Linked DNA regions of Homo sapiens: region 2 is linked to region 1. Evidence: promoter capture Hi-C in 16 types of primary human blood cells and fetal thymus (Javierre and others, 2016). All regions are on one chromosome and are shown on one strand. Each heading gives the region's core, a stretch centred on a gene start or on the middle of the fragment in contact. The rest is flanking DNA. Distances are from core to core; before and after follow the strand shown.

Region 1 (4,488 bases), core at 425-2,924:
GACAGAGTCTCGCTCTATTGCCCAGGCCGGAGTGCATGACACGATCTTGGCTCACTTGTAACCTCTGCCTCCCAAGTTCAAGCAATTCTCCTGTCTCAGCCTCCCAAATAGCTGGGATCATAGGCGCCCGCTACCACGTCCGGCTAATTTTTGTATTTTTAGTAGAGACGGGGTTTCACCATGTTGGCCAGGCTGGTCTCAAACTCCTGACCGCAGGTGATCTGCCCGCCTCGGCCTCCCAAAGTGTTGGGATTACAGGCGTGACCCACCGCGCCCGGCCACATTTTTTAAAATCAGCAAATGCAACGTCAATTCTGTAATTGCTATGCAACTACTAAAAATTAGTTATGCAACTACTATGAAACGTAAAAACCAGGCCATATCCTCTTATAGCTAATGTTACAGGTTGACATTGCTAGCTTTTGATTTAATTGTAAAATCAGTAGGTTGGAGCTAATGCTACTTAAAATTCCTTGGAGCTGTAAAATTATTTCATTCTATTCAAGGCTGCAAGTCTTTGGTCACAAGAAAATTTACGCATAATTACAGCAGCAAGATGAACCGGGTAACATTCAGGCTTTAATTAAAAAATTGAGCTTTACCACTTGAGAAAATTGCTTAAGCCTGTGGTCTCAGGTTTCTCATCTGTAAAAGGAGGGTAACAACAGTACCTATCTCATGGTTATCATGAAGCTTAAACGAAGGAACTGAGTGGTTAGGCAAGCGCCAGAAATTTAGCATGCACACAATAAACCTTAGCAATAAACCACTATCATTTAGAATGATTGAATGTTAAACATTGTACAGGGCCATAAAACTGGACTAATTAAACTCTTTGGCAATGTAGAAACTGGAGCCCACAGATCAGAATCCCTTGATTCCTACCCTATGTCACTGCTCCTTCCACTACACCACTATATAAACCTTCTTAGACTGCTTTATGTTCGAAAAATAGCAGGATCTCCCAGCAGTGCTAACCAGGAGCAGGAAGCAAACAAAAAGTCTTTCTATATCGGGGTGGGCGGGGGAGAAACAGGAAATGGGCGATTGCGCACACTAAAATTGAGATCCCTTGGAGCAAGGCTATTAAAAAAAAAAAAATCAGCGCCCCCCCCTTCCCCATGCCAAAGTTTTCCAATTCATCACCCTTCCACTCTTCAGGAAGCCCGCTATTCAAGTATTCTCTTCACCTTAGATTTCCCGGTCCCAGGGGTAGCTGGTGAAGCCACCCCATCTTGAACAAGATCCTGCAAAACAAAATCAAACCCAGGTGTCAGAAGAACTCTTTTCCTAATTCCACACGGAACGCGTAGAACCCTTACAGGGAAAAACCTTCTATGGAATCAAGTGGTGGAAAGCCTCGTGAGACAGAGAATGAGGGCGGACGGAGGCGGTCGCTGTGGCAATTCGTACACAAACGGGCTCTACGGGGCAGGTAACCCCCAGGGATAGAGTTTACGAAAGATGGGGAGGCGACAGCAGCGCGGGCTTCGGGACACCAAGAGGGAGACTACCGCGCCCTCCCATCGGGCCCACTCCCACATCCCAAATCGCGGCGCGGAAGGCTTGATGGGAGGCAGTGGGCCCGACCTGAGTTACCTCCATCTCCGCCAGCCCGCCGCCGGCCCGCAACCAGCCGCCGCCACCGCTGCACTTCTGTTTGCGCCAGCCTCTGACGTAGGCTCTACTGCAGGTCAAAGGTCGCGCTCTCCGGGCGGCCCGCCCCCCACGTCTCCATAGCTACAGCTCGGCAGCACTTCCGCTTCCGTGTCTGCGTCCGGGAGAAGGTTCCCCGTACGGCGCTAAGGGCGGAGTCCGTCTAGACGTTCTACCTGGGGCTCGACCCCTGGGCCTGCAGGTCACGGAGTAGGTGTGGGTCCCGCCACTGCCGGTTATTGGCATGGGAAGGCGGGCCGATTACCCCTTGGGGCCTCGGGCCTCGGTTTCCACGTCTGTAAAATCTTGTGAGAGTGAGGAACATTGGATTGCAGGACAGGTCTCTCAGTCCTCCAAAGGTGTCCGCTAGCCTGCGAGTGCCTGCGGGACCCACAGCTGGTTCCGGGGGGCTCCTTAGGCATTTGTGGCCAGCATGGTGCCCGGGAGCTCCGTGACTCACAGGTCAGGGATGCGGTAGAGGGCTTCCCTGAGGAGGCATTTCTTGACTCTGGAGGCTGTGAGGAGGTCCCTGGACAGCTCTGCCCTGCAGCCGCCCGGTACTGATGGTGATGTGGTGGAGGCAAGATAGTCGGCCAGGGAACTGGGCAGCCGTGGGAGGAGACTCTGTAGAGTAGGGGGCCCGAGGCCACCCTTTCCCGAAGGGCACGCCAGAGAATCTGTGGTCGAATCCCAGAGCTGCTGCTGTGTCCTGATTGGCGGTCCAGTGCTCTGAGAGCCTTTCTGTTAACTGCTGAAGTGGTTTGCTGCGCTTTCACCTTCCCATTAATGTTTTCCATACACTCCCATAACTAAGGTAACCTGAAGATAACCTAGTTTCCTGTAGTTTAAATGGTCAAAAGGTTGAAGAGGCAGCACACAGTATGTATCGAGTAAATGGTAGCTGATTATTACTAGGTAAAAGAAGTGTTATAAACGAGAAAGAACAGCTATTGTGGACATCTACTCTTTGTCTTTGACAGTGTGTATCACCTATGGTGTTTGTAGGATTGGTTCAGGGGTGGTGTGTGACCTAAGATGTACAGTCTCCACGTACAGTAACACACGTGTGTGTGTACACGTGTGTGTGTACACGTGTGTGTGTGCACGTGTGTGTGTGCACGTGTGCGCGCACGTGTGTGTGCACGTGTGTGTACACACATATATGCACACACATGTATACACACACACACACACAATCCCCAAGTATACATTGTTATTAATGGTCCAGATTAATGCCATTCAAAGTAGTTCCCCAAGTTAAGAGCAACTTACGGTAGACTCCTATTTCAATTAATAACTTGAAAAAATCACTTGCAATAAAATAGCAGGTTAACTAGATACTACACACATTCCAATCCTGTAAAAGTTTCTCAGAGAAACACTGTTAGATATAGTTACATTCCAGGAGTTTGGCTACATCAATAGCTACAGAAGAGTTGATGTTCTCACAGTAGAACTCTCTTTTTCTCATACTTGAAATAAAAAAGAACCTTTCTTTTCTTCCTTTGATCTTTCTTCCCTCGCCAGCCCTCCATTGCACTTGGCTGGGTAACAGGGTCCATGAGTTGCAGCTACAGGTAGGGCAGCGTCTCCTGGGAATCCCCAGGGAGATGAGGGTCAGCACACCCCTAAGCTCCAGGTCATCAGCGGCCTCCTCACACAGCTCGAGCTCACCCCCATCTGCCTTCCTGGTTGTCATTGGACAGGAATTTTATTTTCTGAGATGATGGAGGCAGGTATAATGTTCTTGACCATCGGATACCTTCTGTTGTTGTTCCTCTTAAGGAAGAAATCATTTATTTCTTCCTTCACTAGTTATAGTAAGTGCTGAAATCTTCTAAATATATTTATCATCTTTCATACTTTAAAGAATGAATATTTATGAATTGATTGTGAGTACTCTGAGATCTTCTGATATTCATAAACCTATAGGAAAGATCTGCTTTATATTTCACATTCTCTGGACTGCAGATAAGTTCACATTTTAAAGATGTATATTACCTTAATGAGCAGAACTATGACCTGTTTAACGAATATGTTTCTTTCCAATTGTAAAAGTAACACAGGTTCATTGTAGAACACCTGGAAAATATAGGAAAATTCCGAAAAGAAAATAAAAATCACCTTGAATCATTTATGGAAATAGAAAATAGGAACAATGTTAATAACAATGTCAATAATATGTGCTGTGCTGGTCACATTGTATAGTAGATGGAGACTGCTGTATGTTAACCAGCACTACTGAAACATAATATAATTTGAGCAAGTTGCAGGGTCTTGCCTAAGTAAAAATAGCTTCTTTACCAGTTTGGAATGGTGCCAACATGCCATTATCTCCTGAAGAGCCACATTAAAAGGCACCTGTTGCTTAGGGATGGTCCGGAGAGACACCTGATCTTTTTTTGTTAGTTCGCTAGCAAGTTTTATTTCAGAAAAATCAATCCTTGGCTCTTCAGTGCTTTGATTATAACTCTTAAGGTAAGCATGGAAAAACTACATTTACATTGTATTTTTTTTTCTTTCTTCTCCTTTTTTTTTTTTTTTTTTTTTCAGACAGGTCTTGCTTTGTCATCCAGGCTGGAGTGCAGTGGCATGATCTTGGCTCACTGCAACCTCTGCCTCTTGGGTTCAAGTGATTCTCCCGCCTCAGCCTCCCGAGTAGCGGGGACTACAGGCAAGTGCCACCACATCTGGATAATTTTTGTATTTTTAGTAGAGACAAGGTTTCACCATCTTGGCCAGGCTGGTCTTGAACTCCTGACCTCAAGTGATCCACCTGCCTCAGCCTCCCAAAGTGCTAGGATTATAGGCATGAGCCACCACACCCGGCCC
Region 2 (4,365 bases), core at 1,580-4,079, 3.1 Mb after region 1:
ATAAAACAGTAAAATTTTGTAGGGTAGAGAAATGCTGTTTAAGAGCCTGGAAAAAAAAAATTCTCTGAGGCTTACTCCTTATGGCAATATTTGAGATGTGGCTTTATTGTTCTAACTCTTATCCCACACCTTCCTCCTCTCTCCCACAAAGGTAGCTGAAAGGAGTATGGACGAAGCATGGCCTCCAAAGTGTGTGCCCTGGGATCAAACAAACCTAAATTCAAATCGCAGCCTGGTGGCTTACTAATAACTCTGGAATTCTGGACAAACTTATTTAAATTTACTAAGTTTCTGTTTCCTTATCTGTGAAATAGGAATAACGAAGATGCCTACTTCATAGTTACTGAAAGGATTCAATGAACTAATAAAAGTAAAAAACTCATGACCAGTCAGGTGGTTTTCTTTTTCCAGTCTACTATTTTAGAATGTTTGAATTTTCTGAGTTTTGATCCCTTTGATACATGATTAGATGATAATAATAATAAAGGCAAAGTATTCTACAGAATAATGGCTATTAAACTACTAGGTATTTAAAAGTAAAAGCACTTTTCTGAAGCGCCTATATATATTTTATATTATATATATATAAATCATCTCACAAATTAAACTCTAATACATTGTGTTAACTGCACTAAATGTGCCAACAAGCATCCAAATGATTCAACATAGTGGAGCACAACATAATAGATTTCCCCAACTTCTGCTATCCCCACAAAGCTAGGTAAATTGAGCAGTAGGCGAGGCAAGTGGTAAATCTTAAAAAGATTCTGGTGTCTGGTGTGGTTTTAAGGTATGCACAAACAGACAGACTTAAGGTCAGGCCCCAAATGCTACTTAATAAATGTGTGACCCTGGACAAATTACTTAATGTTCTAAACCTTGCTAATAAAGGAATATTTATCTGTTTTAGTTCCAAGACAGTTAAAGGAACTAAATGAGAAAAATCTAGGAAAACTGCCTAACAGATCCTCTCTCTACGTATTTTAAGCAGAAATAACTTGAGTGAACTTTTAAAAACATTAATCACCATGGATTTTTAAATTCCAGGATTCAAGTACTGGAGTAATAAGTTGTATTATACAAATCAGACAGACCATCAAAAGGGTTCAAGAACAGAATGTAGCACAGTCGACCCACCTCCCGTCATGAGGCAGACTGCTCAAGTTTCATTCAGACCACTTACCAGCATGGAAACCACCCCCATACTTACCATGGCCTCTGCCTCTTCTTTAGGAGCAGCTCTCTTTAACTTCACTGGAGTAGTTCCAACAGGGGACAATGGTGGCGACTTCACAGGGCCTGAAGGACTTTTCCTATGCGTTAAGTCATGGTTCTGTTTAGCGTCATTATTATTGTGTTCCGTTTTATTGTTCACAGGCAAATTGGAAGACAAAATTAGGGGTGAAACACTCGAAGAGGAATTTGATAATTTTCTAAAGGCATTACTGGTAAAGCTTGCCTGCGGGGGAGGCTTCAGTCGATCATTATCTCCATTCTCTGTCTTTTTCACTTTTATGCTTGTACTTGTTGAACTTCCATCAAATACGATGAGGGGTCTTTTCCTTAACCCATCTACAGTGCTACTCCTGAAATCAAAGAGATGCACTCTTGAAAAATACCATCTGGAACGGCAAACCAGTTCACTGGGATTCAAGTTAAAATAAGCAGTAAACAAAAAGATTTTCTGATAAGACTAATCTGAGACTATTAAAAATGAAATTTTCTATGTTCATTCTAAATGAAAGAATTTCCTAGTGTTTTATTTCAAAGTTTAAAATATTTATGTACAAGAAATTCAAAGTTAGCTTTCATGTATACACAACATGCAGCTATTTTTAAAACATCAATTAACCATCTAGCCCTGGAACTTAAAATGAGATTTCCTAGTTAAAAAACAAACACCAGCTTATTGATAGGGTTATCTTAACCATGTAATCAGTTATTATTTTAAAAGGATGATAAACTATAAAACTATACCAAGACTACCACAGCAGCAATCTACAAATGGGGCACAGCATTCTACTCCATTCAGCAAAGGTCTCTAAAGCCAAGACATTTTCTAAACTAATCGTAACTGGACATTTGTACAAGTTCAATTGTAAAATCTGGCAAGTGTCTCATACTTACCTTCTGGAAATCTAATTTCCACTCTTAATAGTAAAGGTTAATAAGGAAAGCATTCATTTGTTTATTACTTATTATACCTCAGATAATATCTATATCACCTATCTCACAGATGAATTGAAAAAAAATTTATTTTTGAGACGGAGTTGCGCTCTTGTTGCCCAGGGTGGCGTGCGATGGCGCGATCTCGGCTCACTGCAACCTCTGCCTCCCAGGTTCAAGTGACTCTCCTGCCTCAGCCTCCCGAATAGCTGGGATACAGGTGCATGCCACAGTGCCCAGCTAATTTTTGTATTTTTAGTAGAGACGGGGTTTCACCATGTTGGCCAGGCTGGTCTTGAACTCCTGACCTCAGGGTAATCCGCCCGCCTCCCAACATGCTGGGATTACAGGCGTGAGCCACTGCTCTTGGCCCAAAAAAAAACCCTTTTAATTAAACATGTTAAAAGAATCTGAGATAGCCAGTTATCAGGAAGAACATTTTAGCCCTGCCACTCAAAGTGTGATCCAGGGACCAGCAGCACCAGCACAGCAACGTCAGTCAGTATCTTAGGAGCTTGTAAGAAATGGAGAATCTGGGGCATCAACCTGAATACATCAGAACTCACCTTTTAACCAGATTTCTAGCAGTTGGCCAAACTCAACAATTCTTGGGTCATCACTGAACATCATTTGGTAGAAAATGAGAAGTAAGCTCACTGTATACCCACTGCCTTTGTAGAAGGGAAACAGGGACTGAGAGCAGGGTTTGACAGCTTGCTTAATCTAAGATTCAAGAAGCACATTAAAGTTTGAGAAGCACAGGGCTATGTTGCTATGGACCTGGTCCTAGCTCTGTGTGACCTTGGGCATGTTACAGCACTTCTCAGGATCTCAGTTCCTCCACAGATAAAATAATAAGTAGTTCAACAATACAAGATGATCTCTTGGATCCTTCCAGTTTTAATGCTCTGATTCAATTGTGTATTTAAAAAATAGAGTCAAAGATCCTTTCCAAAATGATTTTGGGGGACTAATCAAGACAGTTGTACAAAGATTGCTTCAAAGGAAAGTATGACTGGCACATAAAGTTTTGCTTACTAGAACAATATGCCTGAATGTGCTGATCAAGAGGAAAATACTGGCTGAATAACAGCAAAAGTAAATTAAAAGCCATATGCAGTGTAACCCATATTTATGAAAGTTAACACCACTACATAGTCTGTACTAGTAAGTAAAGTAACCATCAAGCTAAAATGGTCAATCTAAAATGCATTCTTGATCAAAGGTCAGACTGTGTGTGTATTTTCCAAAAGACAATGAGCAGACATGTATTCTTCGACTATTCTTCATAATTGGAGAATAATCTCAATCATTAAATTTTTCTTTGTAAAACAGAGATTAAAACTCAGAGGAACATACTCCCCTTTACCCCTACCCTCCTACTCTGTCTTCTCTCACTGCTTCTAGTGGATTGCCTATGACGGTGCCTTACAAATAGAAGGCCCTAAAAAAAAATTAATTGATCAATAGTATCCACTTGAGATATAATAGACACAGAAGAGTTCACTTAAGGATCTTAGGACACTTTGTACTTATTAACCAATCAACAACACTGATTAATCAAATGTAATTTTCTTTAAAAAAGAAAAAATCACTTGCTTGTGGTTTTATAAAACTGTTTTTGAAATTAAATAATTTTAAATAGCATAACTTAAGCTAGTTAACAGGCCCTTCATTTGTGTATTATTCAAAGACCTTAGAGTTTTACCTGACTTGACTTTTTCCTCAAAATTCAGGAAATCCTATTGGCTCTATCTTCAAAATACATGCATGCTCCAACCCACCAAATTTACTATTGTAGTCAAAGCTGCTGCCATCTATTGCCTGGATTACAGTACAGGCTTCTAATTTGTTTCCCTGCTTCCAGTCTTATACACACCGCTTCCCCTCCCCACACACCTTAAATCACTTCTTAGGACAGCAGCCAGAGTCATCTTGTCAAAATGTACATCTAATGATGTCACCACTCTGCTTAAAACCTTCTAGTGGCTTCTCATCTGAGTACAGCCAAAGTCCTTACAATGACTTACAAAGCTTTACATGATCTGACAATCTCTCCCGTTTGCCCCCAGTACAACTCGTTCTTCCTACTTCTCCATCCAGCCCTGATAGCTGCTTTGTTGTTCCTGGTATATGATGGGCACATTCCAGATCCAGCCTCTTGTATTCTGCCTGGAATCCTAGCTTGTTTTCTTCTTC

What was found. Contacts are between HindIII fragments. The CHiCAGO score rates a contact against its expected background, and 5 or more counts as called.
Region 2: a contact is called between a fragment that was not itself captured here and the fragment with the promoter of GCC2 in region 1, in 2 of 17 cell types (total B cells and neutrophils). The highest score is 7.5, in total B cells.

What each region holds. Positions count from the first base shown.
Region 1 is chr2:108,446,392-108,450,879 of GRCh38, reverse strand. It overlaps GCC2 (GRIP and coiled-coil domain containing 2), which reads right to left and starts at 1,674. Exons shown (of 23, transcript NM_181453.4): 1 at 1,600-1,674; 2 at 1,191-1,247. The coding sequence starts at 1,605. RefSeq lists enhancers at 1-183, 184-684, 770-1,751, 1,588-1,847, 1,752-2,734. The HindIII fragment of the contact is 5,578 bases long and covers 696-4,488 here.
Region 2 is chr2:105,340,069-105,344,433 of GRCh38, reverse strand. C2orf49 (chromosome 2 open reading frame 49) reads right to left here. Exons shown (of 4, transcript NM_024093.3): 3 at 1,211-1,586. Among named protein-coding and RNA genes, the nearest start is that of C2orf49, 4.7 kb to the right of the region's middle. The HindIII fragment of the contact is 2,746 bases long and covers 1,457-4,202 here.